3 separate regions of the Homo sapiens genome follow, and regions 2 and 3 are each linked to region 1. The links are contacts of gene promoters, found by promoter capture Hi-C in blood cells and fetal thymus (Javierre and others, 2016). All regions are on one chromosome and are shown on one strand. The core of a region is centred on a gene start or on the middle of the fragment in contact, and the rest is flanking DNA. Distances in the headings are between cores, read along the strand shown. Region 1 holds the start of COX6A1 (cytochrome c oxidase subunit 6A1). Region 2 overlaps RNF34 (ring finger protein 34). Region 3 overlaps LOC105378258 (a long non-coding RNA gene).

What was found. Contacts are between HindIII fragments. The CHiCAGO score rates a contact against its expected background, and 5 or more counts as called.
Region 2: a fragment that was not itself captured here is called in contact with the fragment with the promoter of COX6A1 in region 1 in 1 of 17 cell types (fetal thymus); the score reaches 5.7 in fetal thymus.
Region 3: a contact is called between a fragment that was not itself captured here and the fragment with the promoter of COX6A1 in region 1, in 3 of 17 cell types (total B cells, naive B cells and total CD8 T cells). The highest score is 7.8, in total B cells.

The regions. Positions count from the first base shown.
Region 1 is chr12:120,436,863-120,441,252 of GRCh38, forward strand. It overlaps COX6A1 (cytochrome c oxidase subunit 6A1), which reads left to right and starts at 1,251. Exons shown (of 3, transcript NM_004373.4): 1 at 1,251-1,367; 2 at 1,517-1,659; 3 at 3,592-3,868. The coding sequence starts at 1,265. The coding sequence ends at 3,675. It also overlaps the pseudogene LOC124903126. RefSeq lists enhancers at 1,288-1,497, 1,424-1,945. The HindIII fragment of the contact is 8,043 bases long and covers 90-4,390 here.
Region 2 is chr12:121,400,786-121,405,175 of GRCh38, forward strand. The region is part of intron 1 of RNF34 (ring finger protein 34); the gene reads left to right. Among named protein-coding and RNA genes, the nearest start is that of RNF34, 2.9 kb to the left of the region's middle. RefSeq lists an enhancer at 1-504. The HindIII fragment of the contact is 2,173 bases long and covers 703-2,875 here.
Region 3 is chr12:121,059,156-121,063,545 of GRCh38, forward strand. It overlaps LOC105378258 (a long non-coding RNA gene), which reads right to left. Exons shown (of 4, transcript XR_007063492.1): 4 at 135-601. It also overlaps the pseudogene OASL2P. Among named protein-coding and RNA genes, the nearest start is that of OASL, 22 kb to the left of the region's middle. RefSeq lists enhancers at 847-936, 1,057-1,226, 1,247-1,426. The HindIII fragment of the contact is 1,634 bases long and covers 964-2,597 here.

The DNA of each region.
Region 1 (4,390 bases), core at 1-2,500:
GCTATACTGTGTGTTTACACATAGGTGTGTCTTTAGAGGAAAGGGTTCAAAGCTTTCATTAGATTCTTTTTTTTTCTAATAAAGAAAAAAGCTTTGTTGCCCAGGCTGGTCTCAAACTCTCAAGCTCAAGCAATCTGTCCGCCTCGGCCTCTCAAAGTGTTGGGATTACAGCCATGAGCCACCACGCTGGTCCTCATTACATTCTCAAAGGGGCCTATTGAAAAAAAAAAAAAAAAAAAAAAAAAAGGCCGGGCACAGTGGCTCACGCCTGTAATCCCAGCACTTTGGGAGGCCGAGGAAGGCGGATCACAAGGTCAGGAGATGGAGACCATCCTGGCCAATATGGTGAAACCCTGTCTCTACCAAAGTACAAAAAAAAAAATTAGCCAGGCATGGTGGTGCGTGCCTGTAATCCCAGCTATTCAGGAGGCTGAGGCAGTAGAACTGCTTGAACCTGGGATGCAGAGGTTGCAGTGAGCCAAGATTGCACCGCTGCACTCCAGCCTAAGCAACAAGAGTCAAACTCCGTCTCAAAAAAAAAAAAAAAAAAAAAAAAAAAAAAGATGAGACTGTTGAGTCAGGATTAGGATCCAGGTCTGCTGGCACCAATTTCAGTGCTCTTTATACTTTCTGTTGCTATTCATTCATTCATCCATTCATTCAGCAAATTTATATCAAGTATCTGGTATGTGCCAGGTATGATTCCAAATTACACCATTCCCAGATTATTCTGAGAATGCTGCAGTGCCAAACTCTTGGTATCACAGACTTTATATTCTAGTGGGGGAGACAGACAAAATAATAATATAACGACGAAGGTGCAATGTTATGTGCTATGAGAAAACGCAGTCGGAGGATGGCGAGGAAGGGGAACGGAATTTTAGATAGGGCGGTCTGGGATCAGAACCTCCAGATGCCCGTCCATGGACTCCAACGAAGGGAGCGATTCCAGGTACCAGGGCACCCTGCACAAACCTCTCTTGAGCTTCCGCCTCGCCCAGGTGGGGACGGTAGGGAGACCGGAGGGCACACGCATGCGCACGAAGGAAACGGTAAAGCCTGAAGGGAGGTGCAGAGCGCATGCTCTCTCTTGCCCGAGATGCCGAGGATTTTGACAAGGACTCCGTCGTCCCGGATGATAGTGCTCAGGTTAATGCCAGTGGGAGGGCGGCGCCCAATAGTAACTTCCTTTGGAGGTTGTAGTACCGCCCCCAGAGCCAATTTTCCACTTCCGCTTCCGGCGCTGCGGCAGTCCAGATCAAAAATGGCGGTAGTTGGTGTGTCCTCGGTTTCTCGGCTGCTGGGTCGGTCCCGCCCACAGCTGGGGCGGCCTATGTCGAGTGGCGCCCATGGCGAAGAGGGCTCAGGTACTGGGGCCGGGGTCGACGGGTCGAGCCTCAGCCCCACTCGGGCGAGACAGGGAGGGACTGTGACCTTGGCCCGAGGCCTTGCGGGAGGGAAAGTGAGACCCGGGCCCGCCCCATACCGGCGCTGAACGTTTGTGGCTTCTCCGCAGCTCGCATGTGGAAGACTCTCACCTTCTTCGTCGCGCTCCCCGGGGTGGCAGTCAGCATGCTGAATGTGTACCTGAAGTCGCACCACGGAGAGCACGAGAGACCCGAGTTCATCGCCTACCCCCATCTCCGCATCAGGACCAAGGTACGCCCTTGTACATCTCTTCAAGCGTCCGTTCTCTTTTCGTTATGTGTGCCTTAGTGCAAGTTCTTCATTCTCTGAAGGCATGGGTGCCAGGCGTGTACAGCTTGTTTATCCTCACAAACAGAAAATGTATTTTCTTCCATTTTGTGGATGGACAGCTGACACTTGGGATTACGTCTCAATTCTCTTCTTCAAGGTCATACAATAAGTGCTCTTCAGTTTCCCTTTTCTCCGATTCATCCTACCTCCTGCCTTCTGAGACAGTTCTTTTTTTTTTTTTTTTTTTTTTTTTTACTTCTGAGACAGTTCTGAAACAGGTGTCCGTTGTGTAAAGCCTGGAGGTTTGGGAAATCCAATTAGAGTGGCAAAGTCTGAAGGTGGTTCGCGTAAGCGAACCCAGCAGCTACATGGGAGGCTGAAGCAGGAGAATCCCTTGAACCTAGGAGGCGGAGTTTGCAGGGAGCTGAGATCGTGCCACTGCACTCCGGCCTGGGCAACAGAGCGAGACTCTGGTCTCAAAACAAAACAAAACAGCAACAACAAAACATGGGCATCTGGCAGCTACTAGTTGCATAATGAAGAGACTGACAGCTTTCTCTATTCCCCACCAATACCTTTTCTCGACTGTTTTATCATTGGTTGTTGATGTAGATATATTACAATGTTGTGTCCTCTGTTGTTTGCTGTATCTTTAACAAGGGCTTATTCTGATTCTTCAATACTGGCCATGCGCGGTGGCTCACGCCTGTAATCCCAGCACTTTGGGAGGCCAAGGTGGGTGGATCGCCGGAGGTCAGGAGTTCAAGACCAGCCTCGTCAACATGGCGAAACACTATCTCTACTAAAAGTACAAAAAGTAGCCGGGCGTGGTGGCGGGCGCCTGTAATCCCAGCTACTCGGGAGGCTGCGGTGGGAGAATCTAGGAGGTTGAACCCAGGAGGAGGAGGTTGCAGTGAGCCAAGATCCAGCCATTGCACTGCAGCCTGGGCAACAGGAGTGAAACTCCGTCTCAAAAAAAAATAGTAATAATATACTTGATCTTAGCCAAAAGGCCGAGAAGTGATGAAAAAAGTTATTATTATTATTATTATTATTACATCACCTAGCCCATATAGGACTGGCCTTGTAGAAACTTAACCTAGACTCTTGAATTTGTTGAGTCTTTGAGCGGCACTCCCATCCTTGTACAATGCAATTAGAAGCCAAACAGTAAAGGTTTCTCAGCCTCAGCACTGTTGACATTTGGGGCTGGGTAATTCTTGTTGGGGGGCTATCTTGTGCATTGTGAAATGTTTAGCCATATCCTTGGCCTGTACCCACTAGGTGGCAGTAGTACCTGCGCAACCCCACTCCCGCTTCCCCCTCCCCCGCCCCCATCACAGTGTCTCCCGATACTACCCAGTGTGCCCTGAAGGGGCAAAATCACCCTGGGTTGGAGACCGTTGCCCTAAAGTAATGCTTTTCAAAGGTAATAGGCAAGATAATTCAGGGTGGGCTGCAGTTTCCCAGCCCAGATATTGTTTGAAGTCTGGGATGGTGCCAGAAATCTGCATTTAATTAAGCATCTCCCTCCCCTAATACTGCCACCATTTTGATATAGGTGATTTGAGGATTACACTTTCATAAACACAGCACTGGATATACTAGTTACTAGGGAGAGGATGATGAGTAACTAACTTGAGCTTGCATTTTCTGCCATCCATATTTGTTTCTGGAATTAAAACTGTCCTGTAGCCAGGATAACTTTAAGGGCTCCCCTGGTAGTTATAAGAGCTCCTTAAATAATGGGAAGGTTGAACTACACCAGTAGATAAAGGACTAATTTCCATTTTGTTTTTATATATGATCTGTCACCCCGTTATAAGCAGTTCATGACGGTGTTCTTTCTAAATTATTTTCTGGAATTATCTAACTGACATCTTCACTCCACAGCCGTTTCCCTGGGGAGATGGTAACCATACTCTATTCCATAACCCTCATGTGAATCCACTTCCAACTGGCTACGAAGATGAATAAAGAGAATCTGGACCACTACCCGGGCACCAGGGACCACAGCACTGGTTTGGACCGTTACTCTGCACATGGACCAGAAAAAGTATATGGGACCTTAAGCTCACCTTCTTTACTTGTATCAAATGATGACTGGTATACTGGTCTCCCATCCCTTTGCTTGTGGCAGGAGATGGCTTAAATAAATAACTTAAATTTAGATTGGTCATGAGCTGAGAGTTACTTTCTTTGGTTGTGTTTTTTCGCAGAAATTAGCATTTGAGCTTCAAGTCAGTGTCCAAGTTGAAAAGAAATTGGCATTAGTTATTTCTGTTTCCACAGTGAAGGTCTAGGCTGCTGTTTAGTGTTACAGGTCCAATTCAGCCCATTGAATAAGTGTTTATAACAGCCCCTCTTGGTTTATTGTGCCTGATGTGGATAAAGGGACCAAGTGGAGTGGTGCTAATTAAGCATCAAGATTAGTCCTTGGTCAGGTGCGGTGGCTCATGCCTGTAATCCCAGCACTTTGGGAGGCTGAGGCTGGCAGATCACCTGAGGTCAGGAGTTGGAGATCAGCCGGGCCAACATGATGAAATCCTGTCTCTACTAAAAATACAAAAATTAGTTGGGTGTGGTGGCGCACTCCTATAGCTGGGTGTAGAGGCTTGAACCCGGGAGGTGGAGGTTGCAGTGAGCCAAGATCGTGCCACTGCACTCCAGCCTGGGCAACAGAGTGAGACTC
Region 2 (4,390 bases), core at 539-3,038, 960 kb after region 1:
CCACTAGGTAAACGCAGCAAGGAATTTGGCAGCTTGAGTTCTCCAAGGTGGGAGTGAGAGCGTGGGAGCATTACTGATGAGAAGTTGAAGAAAAGGGGAAAGGGGAGCGGGGTTTCCGGCCTACTTCTGAGAGATGATTCTCAACCCGATCACTGAGAGTTCTGAAGAGCTTTGTGAACAGCAGTCAGTTCAGGGTATTGATTCATTTGCCGAACTCAAACCAAGTGGGATGAGTCATAAGGTGATGATAACTTTCAGACCTAGATGGTTTCGTTAATCTCAGTGCAGAGGTGTGCTGGGGGTGGGTAATCTAGCAGGTGAGCTGCTAGATTAACGCTGTCTCCATAAAGCGTCAAAGATTTACTATAGAAGATTGAAAAAGAGTGTCAGCTGGTCACAGAAATTCAGCACATGTTTTGTTGAACGTTTTCTGTGCGTTAGCCAAGAGGGAGACATGGTGAAGAGAAGTAATTCAAAATACAGTCTCATCCCTTAGGAAGGCAGTTTACCATTCAAAAGAAGAGTTATTTGTAAGTAACCATATTACAAGGCAGAAGGCTATAGGTATCAAAAAAAAAAAAAAAAAAAAGGCAGGGACAAAACACAGGAGCCAGAAAGGATACTTCTGGCTACAGAAAGCAAGGAATATTTTTGGAATAGGTAACTTTGGAACTGTGCCTTGAAGTATGAGGATATTGTAAAAGCTTATTTTTAACTTTCCAGTTTAGTTATAAAATATTATTACAGCTTGAAATATCTATTAAAGTATCTAGAAGTAGCTTTATTTCCTGAAAACCACCCTCTGCTGTGTTAAGATCCAAAAACAAAGCAGGGATCTTTATATATAATGCCTCGAAGAATCAGTATCTTTATTAATATTAAATTTGTGGCCCATTAAGGAACTAGCTATCGAAGGAAAGAATTAGAGACAGGTCCAGTGTTGAAATTTTTAAACAAGTTCTTTGAAAACAGACGTGTGTTTTGAATTGAAGTGGAAGGTACTACTTTCTAAGATGAAATTTTAGAAACAAAGTTTGGTGGCAATTGAAATTATAGAAAAGATACGTATTTTCAGAAGCAAAATATGGACCTGAATAGACATCAGCCTGTGCCAGATGACAGTTATAAATGATGCTTTTGTTTTTGTGAAACTGGATTTACACCATTGAGGATTTGGGCTGTTAAATGTTTATTATTTAACTTAATGTTGATTTATATTGAAATTGTTTAATTGTGGGTATGCTCATCTGTAGATTTCTGGGCAGAGACTGATTCCTGATGTCATGGAATGCTAACATGTGAATGTTCATGTAAGGAAATACTTCTTTCTGTGGAATTAAAATTACATTAAAAGCTAAGCAAGTATACCTGGCCGGGTGCAATAGCTCACGCCTATAATCCCAGCACTTTGGGAGGCCAAGGCAGATGGATCACTTGAGGTCAGGAGTTCGAGAACAGCTTGGCCAACATAGCAAAACCCTGTCTCGATTAAAAATTATTTTAAAAAGAAAAAAAGGAAAAAAAAAGTTAAGCAGTTAAAAATAAACAAGAAAAGCTAAGCAATTATATGGATAAGTACATGTTCACTCAAACCTGGAGCAGCTGGTTTTAGTATATGTACGGAATGGGTATTTACTTTCTCCCTTTGGCGTTTTGGTTTGGTTTGGTTTGGTTTGGTTTAGAAACTGATGTTTTGAAATAGGTCTTACCTCTCAGACTCAAGTAACTTTTTAACCTTGCAGTAACATCCAATCAACTTCCTATAAGGGATTAAAAAAAAAAATCCAAATTGGTGCCCTGTGTTAATTTGATTTAATCCTCTTTCCCATTTTTCCTTATTTATATTGATCTCACCATTAATTGTGCTAATCTGGGTTCTTCCAAGCTCAAAATGAGATATCAAGGAGAAAGTAATCTACTGAATGTAATTCCTTTTCCTTTTTTTTTCTCTGAAAGGTGGGGGAGTGGTACTAAGGATCAAGTATACTGTTAAAAGAAAACAAAAACCCAAGCATGAGGAAGGTAACATTTGTATCTATAGCACATGTTATTGTAATAATCGATCAGTTTGGCCAATGTCTTGTCTAAAAGTATTACATTTTAGAGTTCATCATCTGTTTTTGCAACCTGCTTAATGTCCAAATGGTATGAGAGAAATAATTTAGGATGTAGAATTCCTTCCTTTGTGGTATATGGTCGGATATTTGGTCACTAAGAAAGAGTTAGGTCCCTGCATATTGTATTTCAGTTGAAGCAGCAGTTTTGATAAGAAATCCTTTCACATTCTAAGGAGCATATGTTTCTCAAATGGCTCTAAATAGGATAAAGAGGCCGGGCGCGGTGGCTCACGCCTGTAGTCCCAGCACTTTGGGAGGCCGAGGCAGGCAGATCACAAGGTCAGGAGGTTGAGACCATCCTGGCTAACACAGTGAAACCCTGTCTCTACTAAAAATACAAAAAATTAGCTGGATGTGGTGGCGGGCGCCTGTAGTCCCAGCTACTCTGGAGGCTGAGGCAGGAGAATGGCGTGAACCCGGGAGGCAGAGTTTGCAGTGAGCCAAGATTGCGCCACTGCACTCCAGCCTGGGCAACAGAGCAAGACTCTGTCTCCAAAAAAAAAAACCAAAACAAAAAAAAAAAAGGATAAAGATTTTGCTTTTTTATCAACTGTTTTTTCTGCTTTGCTTTTAGTTATGTAGGAAAGTTTAACCTAACCAAGATTAAACTGTAAAACCGATTATTTTATATCACCGTTGCTAAGATTTAATACATCTTTTTCCTGTCGTTTAACACAGGACATTGAGTTTTAGCAAACTGAAGGTTGTCCAGAGTTTGAAACAAACCCTGGACATATAGTGGGTGAGTTCTCTGAGGAAGCTTTCATTGATGGAAGAACAGTATCGCTCCTTGGTCCTTGTAGATTCATGTAGCATCTGAGACAATTATTTTTGAATTTAAAACTTCTAGGTTCATCCTTAAAATAACTGTGTAAATAATATATTTAACTTAGAGTTATGGCAAGCAAGGTAGACGCTTATGAGAAGAGTCTATGGGTTTATTATTACATTGCTATTTACCTAGTTTAATAAAAAGTGAATGACTGTGTAGTAACATATTAGAGTTTTGGCAAGCAAGATAGACTCTTACGAGAAGAGTCTATGGCATTATTATTACCTTGCTATTTACCTAGTTTAATAAAAAGTGAATGACTTAGATCATTTAGTTTTCTGTTTCTTTTTTTTTTTTTTGAGATGGAATCTCACTCTGTCGCCAGGCTGGAGTGCAGTGGCACGATCTCAGCTCACTGCAACCTCTGCCTCTCGGGTTCAAACAGTTCTCCTGCCTCAGCTTCCCAAGTAGCTGCCATGCCCGGCTAATTTTTTTTTTTTTTCTTCGTATTTAGTAGAGACGGAGTTTCACAATGTTGCCCAGGCTGGTCCCAAACTCCTGAGCTCAGGCAGTCCACTTGCCTTGGCCTCCCAAACTGCTAGGATTACAGGCTTGAGCCATGGCACCTGGCCTAGTTGTCTGTTTTCATACTCATAAACTTTCTTTTCCCACTCTCCCCCTATACTTCTCTTGTGTCTGGCTGTCATTTAATCTTTTTTTTTTTTTTTTTTTTTTTTTGAGATGGAGTCTCTCTTTGTTGCCCAGGCTGGAGTGCGGTGGCACCATCTCAGCTTACTGCAGTCTCCGCCTCAAGTGATTCTCCTGCCTCAGCCTCCTGTGTAGCTGGGACTACAGTTGTGCACCACCACACCCAGCTAATTTTTTTTGGTATTTTTAGTAGAGACCGGGTTTCACCATCTTGGCTAGGCTGGTCTTGAACTCCTGACCTCAAGTGATTCTGGCCTCCTAAAGTGCTGGGATTAGAGGTGTGAGCTACTGCGCCCAGCCTGTCATTTAATCTTCATGGAAACTACCATAGCTTTTCTGATTCTTCGTTCTAGTCTGGCTGGTTGATAATATATTTAATGGAATCATTAAAAGTTTAGGGTTGAAAATTTGTGGTAAATTTGTGAATTCTTTAAATTGAGCATTTTGAAGTATTTTCTCCCCACAGGGATTCTGAAAACATATTAGATTATACACACACAGAAGCAAAGACAGCTGAACCTTGAGGCCATTTGAAAATCCTGGCACTGTGCCAGAAAGAGAGCTGGGCTGCTGCTCTTGCAAAGAAACAGAACACCTTTCCTCTTGCTTTTGTTGACTGTAATGATGTTTCATGGGCTTATATTGTTTGACTCTGACTGAGGAACCTGAGAGAGTCCTTATAACCTTATTGGCTGGAAACTGTCATTCCTACTCTTACGCAGATTATTTAGGTTTGTATTCTTTCCCCTCCCATTTGCTTCCTCTCCTTTGCTCCTACAGAGGGGAGGGGGCT
Region 3 (4,390 bases), core at 531-3,030, 620 kb after region 1:
AAACCTGCTACCCATAGTCCACTTGATTCCCTGGCACTTAGAGAGCTGGATCCCAAATCATCATCATCATCATCATCATCATCATCATCATCATCCAGATTTGTAGAATAGTTTACTGCTTAAGAGCACTTTTCTATGCTTTATCCCATTTATTGTTCATTAGAAACCGGTTTTAGAGAGGAAGAGACCGATGCTCAGAGAGACAAAATAACTCATCCCTTACCTATCCCACAGCCCCACAGTCCCACAGGGCAGAGCTGGGATTTGAACCCCGGGGGTTCCTGAGTGCTCACCTTTGCCATCTTCAGCACCCTGACTTCCTGGTCCAGAATCAGCTCATTATAGAAGAACTGATCCCTCAAGAACTGCTCAGTTCAATGCCCGGCATCCTTCACTTCATCCTTCCAGTCTCCCTGGGGCTGGAGGCTGTTTTACGAAGGCAGACTGGAAGGATGTTTTATGAAGACATCCAGCCTGTCCCCAGGGGTGTCATACAGGTCCTGGAAGCCTGCCATCTCTGTGGGACCAGGAATGAATCGTCTCTGCTTCTGCCCAGCCCTGTAAGGGGCAACTCCCAGCCTTTGTCCAGTAGGCCACAGAACTGCAGAAGGGCAGGGAGATGGTGTGGGTTAGAGAGAGAGTTAGCTGCCCTTTTTCTTTCTTTTTTTTTTTTTTTTTGATACAGAGTCTTGCTCTGTCACCCATGGCGTGATCTCAGCTCACCGCAACCTCTGCCTCCCGGGTTCAAGGGATTCTCCCACCTCAGCCTCCTGTGTAGCTGGGATTACAGGCACCTGACACCACGCCCGGCTAATTTTTGGTATTTTTGGTATTTTTAGTAGAAACGGGGTTTCACCATGTTGGCCAGGCTGGTCTCAAACTCCTGACCTCAGGTGATCTGCCCGCCTTGGGCTCCCAAAGTGCTGGGATTACAGGCGTGAGCCACCGACGGAAGAATCACTAAGCTTACTTTCCTCTTTTTAGGGTGCAGAGAGGGCTAGGGGGCCCTCCAGGCATCAGCTGAGCCTCCCTCTGCTGGGCTGCCTTAGTTCAGCAGCCATCTCTCCTGCCGGCTGAGAATGGAAACTGAAACTGAACTTTGTTTTGTTTGTTTGGGTTTTTTTGTTTTGTTTTGTTTTGTTTTAATTGGAAACAGAAAATTTGCTGAGCTTTGAAAGAGGAATTTTCTCTTTCCATTTGAGGTTGCCAGGAAAAAAGGCTGGAGATGGAGCCAAGTGCCCCTTGGGCTTCCTTGAGAGGAAGGTTCTCAGGCTGGGAGTTTCCCAGGGTGTCCTGGAGCTGGGCTGCCCCCACCTCTCCATCCCCTATTTCCTGCTGCAGGAGCAGACCTTGTCTCCCTACGGGAACTCAGTAGTGTCTGCCCCGGAATCAGAAGGTGCTGGCTCCTTGGGGTGAGGGGATGGGGGCTTGGGCTGAGCCCCGGGAGTCCTGGGGCCTGGGATTGACTCTTTATTTTCTAAAAGCAAAGACATACTCACCCCTTTACTACTTGTTTTGTTGCGTATATTTAGGTCTCCCCTATCCCCTCACCAATAATCCACAGGAAGGAGGTAATCTTTTAAAAAATTGTCTTTAGGGGGCGCTGTTCTCTCAAGAACTTCATTTTGAAGAGCAAACTGACAGTTTGTGGTAGACACATTGGCTTTTAAAGATCTCAACTAGCGACCAGGCGCGGTGGCTCTCGCCTGTAATCCAGCACTTTGGGAGGCCGAGGCGGGAGGATCGCTTGAGGCCAGGAGTTTGAGACCAGCCTGGCTAACATGATGAAACCTCGTCTCTACTAAAAATACAAAAAAATTAGCCAGGCGTGGTGGCAGGCGCCTGTAATCCCAGCTACTTGGGAGGCTGAGGCAGGAAAATCACTTGACCCCAGAGGCGGAGGTTGCAGTGAGCCGAGATGGCATCACTGCACTCCAGCCAGACTGTCTCAAAAAAAAAAAAAAAAAAAAAAAAAAAAAAAAAAAAGGAAAGAAAGTAAATCCCACATTGATACTGTGGAGGCCATAAGTATGCACCTATAGGATGCATTTTAAAAATGCCCTAACAACGCATAAATATGTCACTGAGGTTTGTTAAGAATGTCCAGATTTCCAGCCTGGGCAGCATAGTAAAACTCCATCTCTACAAAATATACAAAAAAATTAGCCGGGCATGTGGCATGTGCCCGTAGCTACTAGGGAGGCTGAAGTGGGAGGATCACCTGAGCCTGGGAAGTCGAGGCTGCAGTGAGCTGTGATCAAACCACTGCACTCCAGCCTGGGCAACAGAATGAGACCCTGTCTAAAAAAAATTAAAAATAAAAATGTCCAGATTCATGACAGCCTGTCTCTCACTCTGCTTAACAGAGTAAAAAATACTGAGCCCTGAAACACAGGCTTAGAAGATTCAAAAATTGCCTTGGAGAGGGAAAACCACTAAGTGGGAGATGCCTGTGAAGAGCTTGAGTTACAAAATCTTTTTGAAAACTGAAAGTGGAAAAGAGTAATATTTGTATATTACCCCATAACATATACAAATGTATAGCTGTATCTAAATAAATTAACGAAATATTGGAAGTGCATATTTGATTTCCCTTAAGCTTATGTAATTAGGGCTATGCCAACATATTTTTATTTTTCATTTATTTTTATGTTTTTCCCCATTGATCCATGTGATTCTCAAACACATTTTTATTTTCTCCCTGGCAAATATTTGTTATTAGTCCATTGGAAAAATTGATTGGATTTGGGGATCACCTTGCATTAGGGCATTTTTGGTATATGTACTCATATTTTAAAAACTGTGAATTCCAATATATATTCTTAATAGGAAACTGCGACATTTTTGTCAATTTTCCTCTCTTCCACAAGATGATGCTCCACACCCACCTAAAACAATCACCATTTGTAGTTCCTAGGATCCTAGTACAGAAGAGACAGAGGGGATCTGCTTAATCCTTGTTTTTCAGAAGGCAGACAGGAGCCCAGAGTGTTTACCAGGGCTCTTTGACATTATGGTATTGATATTAACTCCAATAGCTATACTTATCAAGCACTTCGTGTATACCAGGCTCTCTACACAGTTTATTTTATTCTTTATTTTTTTTGAGATGGGATCTGGCTCTGTCACCCAGGCTGGAGTGCGTGGCATGATCTGGGCTCACTGCAACCTCACCTCCCAGGCTCAAGTGATTCTCCCACCTCAGCCTCCTGAGTAGCTGAGACTACAAGTATGCATCACTGAGCCTGGCTAATTTTTGTACTTTTTTTTTTTGTAGAGATGGGGTTTTGCTATGCTGCCCAGGCTGGTCTCAAACTCCTGGGCTCCAGTGATCCGCCTGCCTTGACCTCCCAAAGTGCTGGGATTAGAGTCGCGAGCCTCCACACCCAGCCTCTTTTCACAGTTTAGTTCCCATAATCCCCACAAGACTCTGTGATGCAGGTTCACACCATGTTACATTATGAAGAAATCGAGTCTCAGCAAGATGATGTGGCCTGCCCAGAGTCACACACCAAAGAAGTGGACAAGCTGTGATTCAAACCCAGGTTCTCTGATTCTAAATGCCAGAGGTTTACCCACGACATTATCTTACTGCCCAAGGCACTTATTATTTATTGAGCTCCTACTACGTGCTGGGCACTGGGCGAGGCTTGGAGAATACATAAATGAATAAGGCAGCCCCATTCTACGGGCAGTTTGTTATGTGTCTTCTCTACTGGGAATCTTCAGCGTGAGAAGCACGTGGTCCCAGGGTCTAGCACATTTCTTGGCACACAATGGGGCCTCAGTTAATGTTGGCTGAATAAATGAATGAATGACACCATGTTTCCTAGGAAGCAAAAGCACTTCAATCTTGTGACTATTTTTTAGTCCATAAAACGGATAGATGGTGGAGGACAGAGAACTTCCTGGTGACCTTCTGCTTGCTTCGTCAAGGCATCTATCAAGGGTCCCCATCTTTGAGTATGGTGGCTCAACCACAGTGGACCATCCCAAAGGTCCTCTCTGGTTCTGCATTGCAGACACTCTGTGCATGGTGGTGCGGGACCTCCTTCCTGGAGGTGCTTGCTTCTTCATTTACCCCAGTGTTTCTTAACATTTTGAAGTCTTGTGAGCACCAGAGAAAATGATGAATGCAAGGGGCCCTCCCTCTAAAAAACATGTTAATGCTAATATTTTGCATGCAATTTCAGGGGCTTCCTGGACCCCAAGTTAAGAATCTCTGCTATGGGGCCGGACACGATGGCTCATGTCTGTAATCCCAGCACTTTGGGAGGTTGAGGCGGGTGGATCACTTGAGGTCAGGAGTTTGAGACCAGCCTGGCCAATATGGTGAAACCCCATCTCTACTAAAAATACAAAAGAATTAGTCAGGCGTGGTGGTGGGCGC